Linked DNA regions of Homo sapiens: region 2 is linked to region 1. Evidence: promoter capture Hi-C in 16 types of primary human blood cells and fetal thymus (Javierre and others, 2016). All regions are on one chromosome and are shown on one strand. The core of a region is centred on a gene start or on the middle of the fragment in contact, and the rest is flanking DNA. Distances in the headings are between cores, read along the strand shown. Region 1 holds the start of TTF2 (transcription termination factor 2). Region 2 holds the start of ST7L (suppression of tumorigenicity 7 like).

Region 1 (6,731 bases), core at 2,500-4,999:
GGTAGTGACCGAGATGTCAAAAGGTGAATGTTCTAGCTCATCCTCTCACCACTGGTATCTTATGGAGGTCTGACATGTTTAATGTATGCCAGCCAGCACAATGCTGACCACAGAAAGTATAATTCTTTCATTTTCCTAGGAATTAAGCTCCACTTTTGTGGGGTTGGACTTGTTCCTGGGTGTGTTGGCTCACACCTGTAATTTCAGCACTTTGGGAGGCTGAGGCAGGAAGACTGCTTGGGCCTAGTAGTTTGAGACCAGCCTGGGAAACACAGCAAGACCTCCTCTCTACAAAAAAAAAAAAAAAAAAAAAAAAAATCAAAAAATTAGTTAGGTGTGGTGGCACAAACCTGTGGTCCCAGCTACTCCAGAGGCTGAGGTGGGAGGATTGCTTGAGCTTGAAAGGTTGAGGCTAGAGTGAGCTATGATTACACCACCGTACTCCAGTCTGGGTGACAAAGCACGACACTATCTCAAAAAAGAAAAGAAAAATAAATAAAAATAAAATGAGTGTCTGTGCTACCCCAGAATTATATTTTATTTTTGAGACAGGGGCTCACTCTGTCATCCAGGCAGAAGCACAGTGGTTCAATCATGGCTCACAGAAGCCTCGACCTCCTTGGGCTCAGGTGATCCTCCCAACTCAGCCTCCCAAGTAGCTGGGACCACAGGCATGCTCCACCAAGCCTGGATAATTTTTTTATTTTTTGTATAGATGGAGTTTCACCATGTTGCCCAGGCTGGTCCCAAACTCCTGGATTCAAGTGATCCACCCACCTCAGCCTCCCAAACTGCTGGGATTACAGGCATGAGCCACCTTGTCTGGCCTACCCTGGATTTTATTCAATATTTCACAGGTCAAAGAACCAGTCTGCTTCTGTAACCGAAGGGTTTCTACTACCACTTTATTTCTTCACCCATTAGGATGTTTCCTTAAGGATGTCAACATATCTAGATGACCAATTTTAGTTATTACTTTCAATGCAGCAGATAGGTATTTTGGCATTGCTTAGTTTTTAAAACAGCCTTATTAAGGTATAATTTAGATGTCATAGAATTCACCTATTTAAAGTGTACAATTCAAAGAGTCTAGTAAATTTAATCAATTGTGCACCCATTACCACAATCCAGTTTTAGAACAATTCCAACATATACTTTGCATTTGACCAGCTCCATACTGAACAAATTTATTGGATAATTAACCTGTGCATTTTAAGCCATCTAAATCTAGGACCCAGCCTAGACATTATTTTGAATAAATCAAGCTTTAAGGAAAAACAAACTCTAAACTTTACTCAAAATAGAGATCCATAAAGCACATTCTCCCAAGGTCTCTCCGGGGGTCTGTAGGCTAATTAACAATATAAATTTAAAATATAAATTAAGAATAAAAATTAATACACATACACCAATACATGTGTATATTTTGAAAAGTGTATGTTGTATAATTCATTATTATTTATTTCAATAGGCATAAGTTTTTTTTTAAGAGACAAAGTTTCACTCTGTCACCAAGGCTAGAGTGCAGTGGCACAATCACAGCTCACTGTAGCCTCAAACTTGTGGGCTCAAGCCATCCTCCCACCTCAGCCTCCTGAGTAGCTAGGACCGCAGGTGCCCACCACCATACTCAACGGGCATAAAAATTAATTTTAAAAATGTTTCCAGTTATGACCATCTTTCGTCCAATCTCAAACTTATTTTTTTCAATCTTGTAAATATGATGAGGTGGAATAAGTTGTCCAGGGACTTAACATTTTGATCTAGTATATTTTTAATTTATGGAAGAAATATTCCTCCTGTCTGTGATTTGGCTGTGCACACTTTTGTGAGGTTGGACTGGAGATACCGACTTGGGTACTTGCAGAGGAGGAGCTTCTTCCTTAACGGGATATTTAAGAGGCCCCGATTTTGCCTTGTTTCGAAAATTATTCAAGAAATAATTAATTACCATGCCCCTCTTTCTGCAAATCCTGTATTCATGGTATACTACCTCCAATACAGCATCTATTAAACATGTACAAATACATCATTTGCAAGAATAACAATCTTGGAATAATGAAAATGCTTCTACCTATTTGTTGTTCCTGTCTTATCTCTAAGTTCATCTAAGTTTCGGAAGGGTAGTTATGTATAAAGGAACTTCACTTTGGAAATTCCATTTTTCTCTAGTCCTAGAGAGTTACTGCTAACTCCATTCATTTTGACATTTAAATACTATTTTATATTGTTATTTAAGTGTTCAACATGTACTAGTTCAGTCTCCTCAAAATACTGAGTAAGTTCCTTGTGCTTAGAATAGTTGTTTCAAACTTTGTGTGTGTGAATGAATGAATTTTACATTTCTCAAGCACCTAGTCCACAACGGGCACAAAAAAGCTATTTAGTAAGTACTGTTTAATTAATAAATGATACCTCAGGTTTGTCTCCCTTCCTCCGGATCCCCATAACATGTACATTTATCACATCGCCCAGATTTCCTAGACATTACAGATTTTCTGTTCTACGGCCCCCATAAGAACAGTGCAGGTGCCACACCATATGTCTGGGACATATGGTCCTCAATAGCTGCAATATGAAACTATTTCTATTGCAATAAATCTAATATCTATTCCTCTCTGTTTACTAATAGTTTTGATTACAACTTCAAATTTTAAAAATCGAGGATGAAGTTAAATAGAAGGGAACTGTCCCCTTTCTTCTATTTAACCTCGTCTTCGATTTTTAAAATTACAAAAGCATAATAGTAAAAAAAAGTTTGACAATACAAAATGATAAAGTAAAATTCGCCTTCACCAAAAGTCATCTATTTCCCCTTCTGTGGTTTCCACGTTGCGGCTGGTAACTCGGGGCTTCCACGCTGGGCGAGCCTAGAGAACATCCAGTACACACAGGAAGCAGCAGCGCGGGCCAAATGGCGCTGAGACCTGCGCACCTGTCCACGGACCGCCCACTCGCCAACTCTGACCTTGGGTGAGTCTCTCAAACTTGAGTCTCGGAATCTTCCACAAAATGCTACCCATCTCACCAGGTCGAGTGAGGAGGGTCGTGTTATGTGTAAGCACTTTGTGAAATCTAAAGCACGAGGCAAACGTAAAGCATTGTAGGGGGTCCTAGAGAAGTCTTTGTGCCTGCCTATCAGAGCCGTTTCAGTTCCCCGCAGCAGCTTCCAAGGACCTCCCACCATGCCCGCCGCTTCGGCTCCTGCACTGCAAATCTCGCGGCTCGGCCTGCAGCGGCGGCTTCCCCTGGCCTCCCACCCCAGCGACTGAGCGCGGAGCCCAGCGCGCACGAGCGCCAGCCTGGCTCAGAGACACCCACGAAGCCAGGGCCTTTCAGCGCCTGCTAACTGGCGCTACCCCTAGGGCCGCCTCTCGGTTTTAAACGTAAACAAGAGTTGCCCTTCCGTCTTCCAAGACCTGCAAATCGAAGCTTCTTTTCCTCCAGAAGCCCCGCCACCTTCTAAGCTTCTCCCCAGCCTCAGCCACGCCCCAGCCTGCAAAAGCCGGGTCCTTTACGCCCCCTGGCTCCGTATTTGATTTCGGCGCGCGCCATACCTGAGGGCAGCTGTGATTGGTTGGAGGTGAGCGAAGTTCCTATATGATTGGCTGATAGCGGCTAGGACGGGTGAAGGCCAAGGGCGGAGAATTATGGGAGGGATTAAGACTGCAAGAGCTGAGTGATGGTTGGTTCCTGAACAAAGAGGGCGGAGTAAAAGGCGGAAGCAGAATTGGGGGCGGGGCTTTGTGGAACTTGGGGGACCCAGCGAAATGGAAGAAGTTAGGTGTCCAGAGCACGGTAAGGGGCTAGGGTCTCAGCGTCCCGGGGCCTGTTGATTTAGCGTGGCGTAATCGTTGTTCACTTTCTTCTCTCTTCAGGGACTTTCTGCTTTCTTAAGACCGGCGTCCGCGATGGCCCGAATAAAGGAAAGAGCTTCTACGTGTGCCGGGCAGACACGTGCAGCTTCGTGCGGGCCACCGAGTAGGTCTGGAGCTGGGCCCCACTCCCTGTGGCTGCCCGGGGCCTCCCGAGAGGAGCTTCCCGCTCCCCGCTGTCGGGCGTCACAGGGCCGAGGAGTGGTGGGGCCCTAGTTTGCGGTGTCAGGACCCTTTAAGCAATTGGTGATCCCAGGGCAGCGTGGCGTGTTCGGAAGACGCCCAGCTAATTCTGGCTGTGTGACCCGAGGCTGGTTACCCCCCTCTCTGGGCCGATGGTTCCCCTACCTGTAAAATTGAGGATCCGGTGTTTTCCAGCTCTGGGTTTCTATTCACTTGACAGGCCTTAACCACTCCCTTCTCCTGCCCAGACAGTCCCTCCCCCTTTAAAGGAGTAAGGACACACAGCAGACATAGTGGAAAATAATTTGTCCCTGTTTTGCACTAGTTTTAGGCCCGACGGTTTTTTTTAAATGTTTGAGCTTAAAACACTCTAGTGATTAGTTGTTAGCCTTCTTATTTTTAAGTAGGATTCTCTGCATCTAAATGGTGAAATTGATAATTCAAAGAAATTAGCGCTGGAAGAAACAACGGAGGGCCTGGCGCGGTGTGTGACGCCTGTAATCCCAGCACTTTGGGAGGCGAAGGCGAGCGAATCGCTTGAGCCCAGGGGTTCGAAACCAGCCTGGGCAACATGGTGAAATCCCGTCTCTACGAAAAATTAAAAAAAATTGTCTAGGCATGGTATCACACGCCTGTAGTCCCAGCTACTCGTGAGGCTGAGGTGGGAGGAGAGAGTCAGAAATGTTAAGCATCTTCTCTAAAGTGAGGAAAGTTAATAGTTTGTCAAGTGTTAATGTTTTCACAGTACCAAGTGTCTACATTTTCTATGTGAATTTTAAAACTATCATCACATCATTAAACATCTCCTGCTCTCTATTCAGCAAAACTTGGTAGAGAAAAGTTATTTTTCTCCGTGTCAGATGTAGAGTACATAATGGATATCAGTATTAGAAAAGTGCCCTTTCAACATGTATACTAACTTCCCATGTTTCTGTTTCATGAGTTAGATGATTTACACTGAGCCTCTCAGATATAGTACCCAGGTCAAGTTTTGTGAGATAGAAGCATTTTTACCTTTGCAGGAATTCAACATTAATGGTGGCATAAGATTTGGTTTTACATTAAGAGAAACACTCTTATTTAGGATCCCATCTACACAAATGCTTTGCTATACAAACTAGCACAGTGGTATTTGAAGACAATTATTTGATAAACTTGATTTATTTGGACTATATCTGATAACCAATATACAGGCCAAAAAAAGTGCCACAGGTTTAGGAGAGTACTTTAAACCTTCACTCAAACCTGTTTACTCTCAAATGTTATATATATTTAAATTTTTTCATAATAAGTTGGAAGGGAGTGATTAAAAACTTACACAAAACAAGAAGCATATAGGGCGTATTGTTAGAGGTAGGCGTGTGAATAACACTAAGTGACAGCTCTCAGCTTGTTAGAGGGAAAGGATGAAGGGAAGAGCCTGGGGAAAATTCATACAGGGCCTCACAGCCAGCCCTAATTATGTCATTCGTAGGGGGATCCCAGTGTAGAGATTACACAGTGCAGTGTGGTTTTAAACTTTTGAGTCATCAAGAAACAGTTATGCTTTATTTGAGAAAGTGGGTAAAGATGAAAGCTAGGGACTTCTTCCCCAAAGGAATGCCCATAGCTGTGATAATGTGTGGGAATTACAAACCCAGTAGAGGTTATACATAGATTCTTGGTGTAAAAACCCATAGTTTTGATTTGACTTTAGGATATTGATCTCTGTTCCTGACCTAAAAATGTTTTCAACTTTTTTCTTTTCTCTAGCATTCCTGTTTCCCATTGCTTATTGCATGAGGACTTTGTGGTAGAGCTTCAGGGTTTGCTTCTGCCACAGGACAAGAAAGAATACAGGTAAGGGTCCAAAAGGAACATCTAAGTGTATTTGCTTTTTTTTTTTTTTCTCCCTGAAAGAGTTGTAGCCAGGTATGTATTAGGATTGTTCTTTAAAAGTCATTTTAAAAAACAAAATTTGTATATGTATTAAGTGTCTTTTGGCTGTCACTACCTAAATACCAAGCAGCTAGTTAATCTGAGAAGTCTGATTTCTAGTAATTTTCACGTAAATGGCTCCACAATCATCCCTCTCCAACTGTCAGGTAGCCTATAATGACAGCTGACCATTGGCCACTAACTTGCCCTTAACTTGTCAATCTTCTAATTCTGGTAATAGAACAAGGTAGTGAGTAAAAATGGCTAAACATATTTAGTCCTCAATAAATGTTAGTTTCTTTTCCTTTATATGGGAATTTGGGAAGGGCAGAGAAGTCTATAGAGCTGGGAGATATTTGTCACGAGTATTCAAAGATAAAGTAGGAATTCCCTAAGTGTTAGAGAGAGGTCATATTTAATGGACTAATATATTGCATTAGAGTACTAAGGCATGAATTAACATGGCATTTTCAGGGAAAATTTGATTTGTTAATAGTTTAACATATCTTTAAACAGAGACTTTAGGCGATAAGGCTGGCCAGGAAGGTAGGGGTCAGGATGTGATAGATGGTCTTTGTGTGATATTCTATGCACTTCATAATTTATATATTCTAGATCCCCCCACCCAATTAAAGGCATTTGAGTACCACCTACAATTTTTATATACCTGAGTACTGTTCATACTTCTATTTTTCTTAATTTAGTTATATGTATAGTAAGATACACAAGTCTTAAGATTTCAACCAGTTGAGTTTT
Region 2 (7,103 bases), core at 280-2,779, 4.4 Mb before region 1:
TGAGGCCAGAGGATCGCTTAAGCAGAAGAGTTCAAGGCTGCAGTGATCTTGCCACTACACTTCAGCCTGGGTGACAAAGGGAGACTCTGTCTGTCTTTCTCTCTCTCACACACACACACACACACACACACACACACACACACACGAAACGTAAAAAAGAAAAATCTATAGTAATCAACTATTCTCATCTAAATGTTGCATATGGTTAACGTAGAAAAATAAATGACAAGTCAATCAGTAACACTGTGCATAGAAACCACCGTTAAGCACTTCATTCACCTGTTACAGAGATGCCAAATTAGCTCTTCAGTTTAGCTTATTTTAGAGTGCTAGTTATATTTGAACTTGATACCTATCCTCCAAAAAAACCAAAATATTTCCGAACATTAACTCACAGTCTTTCATGTCATCTCTGAACAGGAAAGGGGACATTTGCTGCCTTTTGCTTCAGAAAAATCAACCACCATACTGAATCATGTAATGGAAATACTTATATCTTGTTCTGAGGTTGCTGCTCAGATCTTGAGTGAAATATAATCACATGGTAAGGGGACCTGGGCCCTAAACACTTCATCCTGTCTACAGCTAAAGAATAGTACAGTATATGAGAATCCATCAGGATCATCACTTCTTACATGTGTTCGTATTGTCAGCACAGAATACGTAGCAAGTGTTCTACAGACGTCGAAAGAACTAGCAAACCCACTGTTGTTTGTGGCGCTCTCACTTCCTGTACTATTTTATTACTCAAGATAAGCCTAAAAGAACAGACAAAACTATCACGAAAACGATTTCTTAACAGAACTATTTTAAAACAAGAGAATCCTCAATTAAAATCATGCCATTTTCTTTCTCTGAAATCTTTAAATTACAGATGTGCTCATCTTTGTTGCCTGGATATGAGTTCTTTCAGCTGGGCAGCGGGAGACTCAAAGTAGTGACTTTTAAGGGATCCTACCAGAGGTGGGGGAGCCAATATAAATTACGTATCCTAATCTGAGACACTCTTCTGTCCTAATACCTGAAGCTTATAGCTTGTCAGGTGGCTTTTCCATGGAAAAACGAGGACATAAGAGAGAGGGCGGACCTTAAGAGTTCTACGGAGGAGCCGGTAACGGCAGCAGGCTTGTCAATCAACTGCAAGGTTGCAGCCCAAAAGAAAAAGAACTCACTTGATCGCTCATCATCGACTCCTCAGAGGCCCTCTAGGACTACCGAGAATCTCTTGCCCTTTGGCTCTTGCCCCCGACATCTCTCCTGGCCCCCCGCCCTGCCCCAGGAGGTCTGGTCCTCTCACCCGCTGCCAAATTCTCACACAGCCTCAAAGGGATCCTCAGGGCGTAAAGCAGCCCCAGCCCCGCCACGAACCACAACGAGGCCCCAGTCCCCGCCAGCCCGGCCCGCAGTCGCTCCCTCCAGCCTAGCGTCGGGTTTAGGCCAGGGACAGATGCAGGAGACGCTCCAACAGCTGCGGCTTCACCCACGCCGCCACGGTCCGCCATCTTGCCGCTATCGCAGGCGCCAGGAGCTGGGAGGGGAGAAGGACAGGAAACCGGGAGTCGGGAATCCTGGGATAGTGGCGGACCTGAAGTTGGCCTCTGTGAAGGCTGAGTCCTGGGGAACCGGGACCGAGAAGATTTCGAAGGTGGAGGAGCGTGTCTCAAGATTGGGGCTACCTGTTCTTTCGTGGGGCAGGGAAGGGGCGGACAGCAGCGCCTATTCTGGAGGAACTGGACTGAGATGTGACCCCGAAGTGTTACCGCTTCCAAACGAAATGAGGGTCACCTTTCACACCGCCCCCCCCCCGGGGTTGGAAAAGCCACCGATCGTTCCAGCTGCCGAGCAGCTCTTAAAGCTTTGGATTCGGCTGTCGTGGAGATAACGGGCACCAGAAAAACTTGTAGGAGTAGCAACAGCTATTTGGTCGGATGGAGGCCAGAAGCCAAGAATAATCGAAACACGCTGCCAGCGCCCATTAGATGGATGGGAAATGAGTGTAACTCATTGGGAAAGATATTAGACTTCAAATCACCTAAGGCAAACCCTACTTCCTGGGGCGCGGGCGCGGGCGCTGGCGTTAGGAGACGTCACTCCCGCGCATAACTGACATGGGGCCCTCTTGGTCGGCGTTTCCGGGCGGGTCCTTCCGACGGCCGCCGCGGTGATTCCATCACTCGGCTTTCTTCCCGGCCTGCCTCGCGCCCGTAGCCGGGCTGGGCCAGAACAGCCCAAGATGGCCGACTTCGATGATCGTGTGTCGGATGAGGAGAAGGTAAGGGGTCCGCCTCTCTCTCTTACCTCCTCCCCCGACAGGGAACTGGGGCCCGGCCCGGCTGCGTTGGGAGCCTAGCAGTGTCCCCAGGAAAAAGAAGCTTCTTGGTCCATGCTGACATACGCTCTCCGCAGTCGGGACGCTTCCCTCTTAGGGGGCTTTCCTCTGCCTCACGGTGGCCCCAGTTCCTCGTTCCTCGACTCTCCTTTTCTCTCAGGCCTGAGGCACAGCCCAGGGGCCTCCCTGCAAGGGAACAGACGTTTCCTTTATTGGATCGTGACTGTGGACTTTTTTCTGTAATTTTGCGAGAGGGTGGTGGTTATGTTGCGACATATCAAAAAGCAGTTATTTTACCGCCTTTAGCAGTTGGGGCTCACCCCATCCCCCCATTTGTAGATATAATTGGGGTTAGTTTAGGGCGAGTCACTTCCTGGTCAGGATGGCCTCTTAACTTCCCTTTTGCTCCTCCTTCCTCAGGAAGTGATTTTGCTGTCACGACTCTTCGACAAGGAGAGGTCCCAAATGTTGTCCATCTCCCTACACATGCACTACTTTTCTCCTGTACTGTCGCCTGTCTGATTCGCTATAATAAATCTGTGAGCCTCAGGGCATTTGCTTCAGAATTTGAACACCAGTCTTTCCCTATAGACACATCCCTTTTAACGATAATTTTTGAAAATTTTGTTTCTTGTTAACAAATCTAGAATAGCTGATGGATTTTCTTAACCTCCAGAAAGGTTTTCTGTAACACATAATAAACCTTATGTTAACACGTTCAAGACTGAACAAAGCATCCTGCCTTCTTTGATGCTCCACTGTGGAGTCTTTGATCAGTTGAATTTGTCAGTGTGCATTTTGTATGCTCATTTCTTGAAAAGGGTCTTAAATACAAGAGCACATTCTAAGGTGGAATAACTTTTCTTCTGACAGTTGCACAGTTTCATAACAGTTTGTCAGGCTTTTCAGTAAGTACATGGTTTTAGGGCACGTAGAACTTAGAATGACCTCACAAGGCAACTTATTGGACAAGAATTATGACATTTGTCTCCCACTGTGGCTATTAGAAAATGTGTCCCCTTGAGTGCTCTGTAAATCTACCTGGGTGTTTTTTTCAATAAGAAGTTGGGATGGGAAGGGGACTGTTATGATCCATAAGTCCTCTGTACGGAATAACTTGATATATGTAGATATGGCATGCCATTTTGAAATGTTTAACAAGCCATTGACAACAGCGTTAGATTTTCTCTTATTTGGAAACTGATCTTCATACATGTTTAAGATTTAGGACAAAAACATTTATGTATAAGCCTATGCTGGAAATCGATCTATAATAAATTGTTCTAAGGCAAATAGTTACTATTCAAATAAAATTAAGCAAAAATCCTGTTACAATACAACTAAACAATTTTTTTTTTTTTTTGAGACGGAGTCTCGCTCGGCTCACTGCAACTTCCGCCTCCCTGGTTCAAATTATTCTCCTGCCTCAGCTTCCCGAGTAGCTGGGATTACAGGCACCCGCCACCAAGTCCAGCTAATTTTTGTATTTCTTGTAGAGAGTGGGTTTCGTCTTGTTGCCCAGGCCGGTCTCAAACTCTTGGGCTCAAACGATCCATCCGTCTTCGCCACTTAAAGTGCTGGGATTACAGGCGTAAGCCACCGCGGCCGGCCAAAATTTCACAAATAATTTAAATAATAAACTTTTAAGTTTATTGTGCCTACCTGATACACATTGACCAGTGTTGTTGGATTTTTGTCTTTGATACCAGGTTAGAATGCCTTTAATTAAACTTGGGAAAATATATATTTTAAAATGCCAATTAAGATGCCTTTAGATACTGGCAGTGTTTTAATTAATAACATTAATGTCTTGGGTTATGGTTTTTTTTTTTTTTTTTTGAGATGGAGTCTCGCTCTGTCACCCGGGGTGGTGTGCAGTGGTGCGATCTCCGCTCGCTGCAACCTCTGCCTCTCTGGTTCAAGCGATTCTCCTGCCTCAGCCTCTCGAGTAGCTAGGATTACAGGCGCCCGCCACCAAGCCTGGCTAATTTTTTGTATTTTTAGTAGAGACGGGGTTTCACTATGTTGGCCAGGCTGGTCTCGAACTCCTGACCTCATGATCTGCCCGCCTTGGCCTCCCAAAGTGCTGGGATTACAGGCGTGAGCCACCGAGCCCAGCCAGTATTGTTTTTTTTAATAGCAGATCTGTGACCAGTTTCCTCTTCTAGCATACTTTTTTTGTTGCCAAGTATATTTTAATATTGTTTTTTATCTTTGTTACATTTTCTAAAGGCAGTGAACCTTTAGAAAATTTGGTGATAATGGACTCTTAGTTTCCTTGTAAATATTTATGTAAAAGCTAGTAATATCATCTATTCTCATAACTGCTGAAGTTTTTTTAATCACTTTATAAAGAGGAAGTTGGGTTTTGTTACCTGAAATGGTCATGATGAGCTGTCTAAATAAAACAGGAAGTTGAAAGTGTAATAACTTTTAGAAATAAATCTTTTAGTTGTAGCTTTGAGTTCACAGTTTCTGAGAATGAACTTGAGCTCTTTAGTTACATGCTTAGCAAGACCAAGATACTATAATTAGGAATCCTGAAATATGAGATGAATTACTTCTTTGGGTTCTTTTCATTGTCTATTTCCTTTATTTCATTCAACATTTGTAAAACATAAAAGCAAAGAGAATTTTGGGGGGCTGGAAAAAAGTGTGACTAGCATATTTTTTCCCTTCAGCCTAACTAGTGGAATATTTGTGTACAATTTCAAAAGTATGGTAATTGAGAAGTCATGCTTTCAGTTTAGACAATGCTTTCAGTAATAAGATAAAGTTTTCAGTATTAAGAAAAACTACATGCTTTCAGTTTAGACAATGGTAGTGGTGTTAAGGCATTTTTGAGAAACAAGTTTATCAAAATTATTTAGTAGAGCAGTAGAAAATGTTGTAAATAGATGAAATATGAGGGCTTTGTTAGAGCACATGAAAAATATTTTATACTTTTTTTTTTTTTTTTTGAAACGAAGTCTTGCACTGTCTCCCAGCGGGCTGGAGTGCAGTGGTACGATCTCGGCTCACTGCAACCTCCACCTCCTGAGTTCAAGTGATTCTCCTGCCTCAGCATCCCAAGTAGCTGGGATTACAGGCACCTGCCACCACACCCGGCTAATTTTTTGTATTTTTAGTAGAGACAGGGTTTCAATATGTTGGTCAGGCTAGTCTCAAACTCCTGACCTCGTGATCCGCCTGCCTTGGCCTCCCAAAGTGCCGAGATTGCAGGCGTGAGTCACTGCACCTGCCAAATATTTATGCTTTTAAACTGGATCCTTGATTATGTATTACCTCCTTAATTTACTAGTTACCATTGTAGGATAAAGCAAGCCCTAAAGATTGTTTGGTGTGGCTGTTTTCTAACAAGTCATCAATTAATATTAAAACTGTCATTCTTCCATCTTCACTTTTCAGTTAGTTTTGCTGAGAGGTATTCATATAATCTGTTAAGACATCCTAGGACAGGCCGGGCCCAGTGGCTCACGCCTGTGACCCCAACACTCTGGGAGGCCGAGGCAGGTGCATCATCTGAGGTCGGGAGTTTGAGACCAGCCTGACCAACATGGAGAAACCCCATCTCTACTAAAAATACAAAAATTAGCTGGGCGCAGTGGCACATGCCTGTAATCCCAGCTACTCAGTAGGCTGAGGCAGGAGAATCGCTGGAACCTGGGAGGCGGAGGTTGCGGTGACCCGAGATCACGCCATTGCACTCCAGCCTGGGCAACAGGAGCGAAACTCCGTCTCAAAAAAAAAAAAAAAGAAAAGAAAGCCCGGGCGCGGTGGTTCATGCCTGTAATCCCAGCACTTTGGGAGGCCGAGGCGGGTGGATCACGAGGTCAGGAGATCGAGACCTGACCTCAGGAGATCGAGATCCTGGCTAACGCAGTGAAACACCGTCTCTACTAAAAATACAAAAAAATTAGCCGGGCGTGGTGGCAGGTGCCTGTAGTCCCAGCTAATCGGGAGGCTGAGGCAGGAGAATGGTGTGAACCCGGGAGGCAGAGTTTGCAGTGAGCCGAGATTGTGCCACTGCACTCCAGCCTGGGTGACAGAGCAAGACTCCATCTCAAAAAAAAAAAAAAAGAAAAAAGAAAAGAAAAAGAAATCCTAGGACAGGAGCATAAAGCCTAATAAGCAGGTGCAAACTCACATGTCCAGTCTTGTTAGTAGTACTGATTTATCATAATTTCTTCCAGAACACTTAGCTGTTTTATTACGACCAGGCTTAATGCTAAACAAAGTAGTGTAAATTTGTCAGAAAATTCAGATCCCAGGTTTTTCTGATTATGTAGCCATGCTTTTTTCACTATACTTTTCTTTTCCATATAGGTATGAATGAAAAACCAGAGTAGAGACATCCATTTAGTGGATTATAAATGAGGTATTATGGGCTGGGCATGATGGCTCACGCTCGTAATCCCAGTACTTTGGGAGGCCAAGGCGGTCAGATCATCTGAGGTCAGGAGTTAGAGACCAGCCTGACCAACACGGTGAAACCCTGTCTCTATTAAAAATACAAAATTAGCCAGGTGTGGTGGTGCATGTCTGTAATCCCAGCTACTCAGGAGGCTGAGGCAGGAGAATAGCTTGAACCCAGGAGGCGGAGGTTGCAGTGAGCCGAGATCGCGCCATTGCACTCCAGCCTGGGCAACAGAGCAAAACTCCATCAAAAAAAAAAAAAAAAAAAAAAAAAAGAGGTATTATGATGTAATGGAAAAGAGTGATTGTGAGTGTTAGATATGGCCTTTCCCTTTCGTGCTTCTAGCCACCTTGTCAC

Evidence for each region. Contacts are between HindIII fragments. The CHiCAGO score rates a contact against its expected background, and 5 or more counts as called.
Region 2: a contact is called between the fragment with the promoter of ST7L here and the fragment with the promoter of TTF2 in region 1, in 1 of 17 cell types (fetal thymus). The highest score is 5.7, in fetal thymus.

The regions. Positions count from the first base shown.
Region 1 is chr1:117,056,577-117,063,307 of GRCh38, forward strand. TTF2 (transcription termination factor 2) reads left to right here and starts at 3,750. Exons shown (of 23, transcript NM_003594.4): 1 at 3,750-3,798; 2 at 3,879-3,981; 3 at 5,811-5,897. The coding sequence starts at 3,771. CD101-AS1 (CD101 antisense RNA 1) reads right to left here and starts at 2,914. Exons shown (of 4, transcript NR_110786.1): 1 at 2,797-2,914. RefSeq lists a silencer at 2,821-2,870 and an enhancer at 3,291-3,450. The HindIII fragment of the contact is 4,450 bases long and covers 3,466-6,731 here.
Region 2 is chr1:112,617,612-112,624,714 of GRCh38, forward strand. ST7L (suppression of tumorigenicity 7 like) reads right to left here and starts at 1,530. Exons shown (of 15, transcript NM_017744.5): 1 at 1,298-1,530. The coding sequence starts at 1,502. CAPZA1 (capping actin protein of muscle Z-line subunit alpha 1) reads left to right here and starts at 2,221. Exons shown (of 10, transcript NM_006135.3): 1 at 2,221-2,272. The coding sequence starts at 2,234. RefSeq lists enhancers at 1,494-1,593, 1,702-2,901, 2,054-2,503. The HindIII fragment of the contact is 828 bases long and covers 1,026-1,853 here.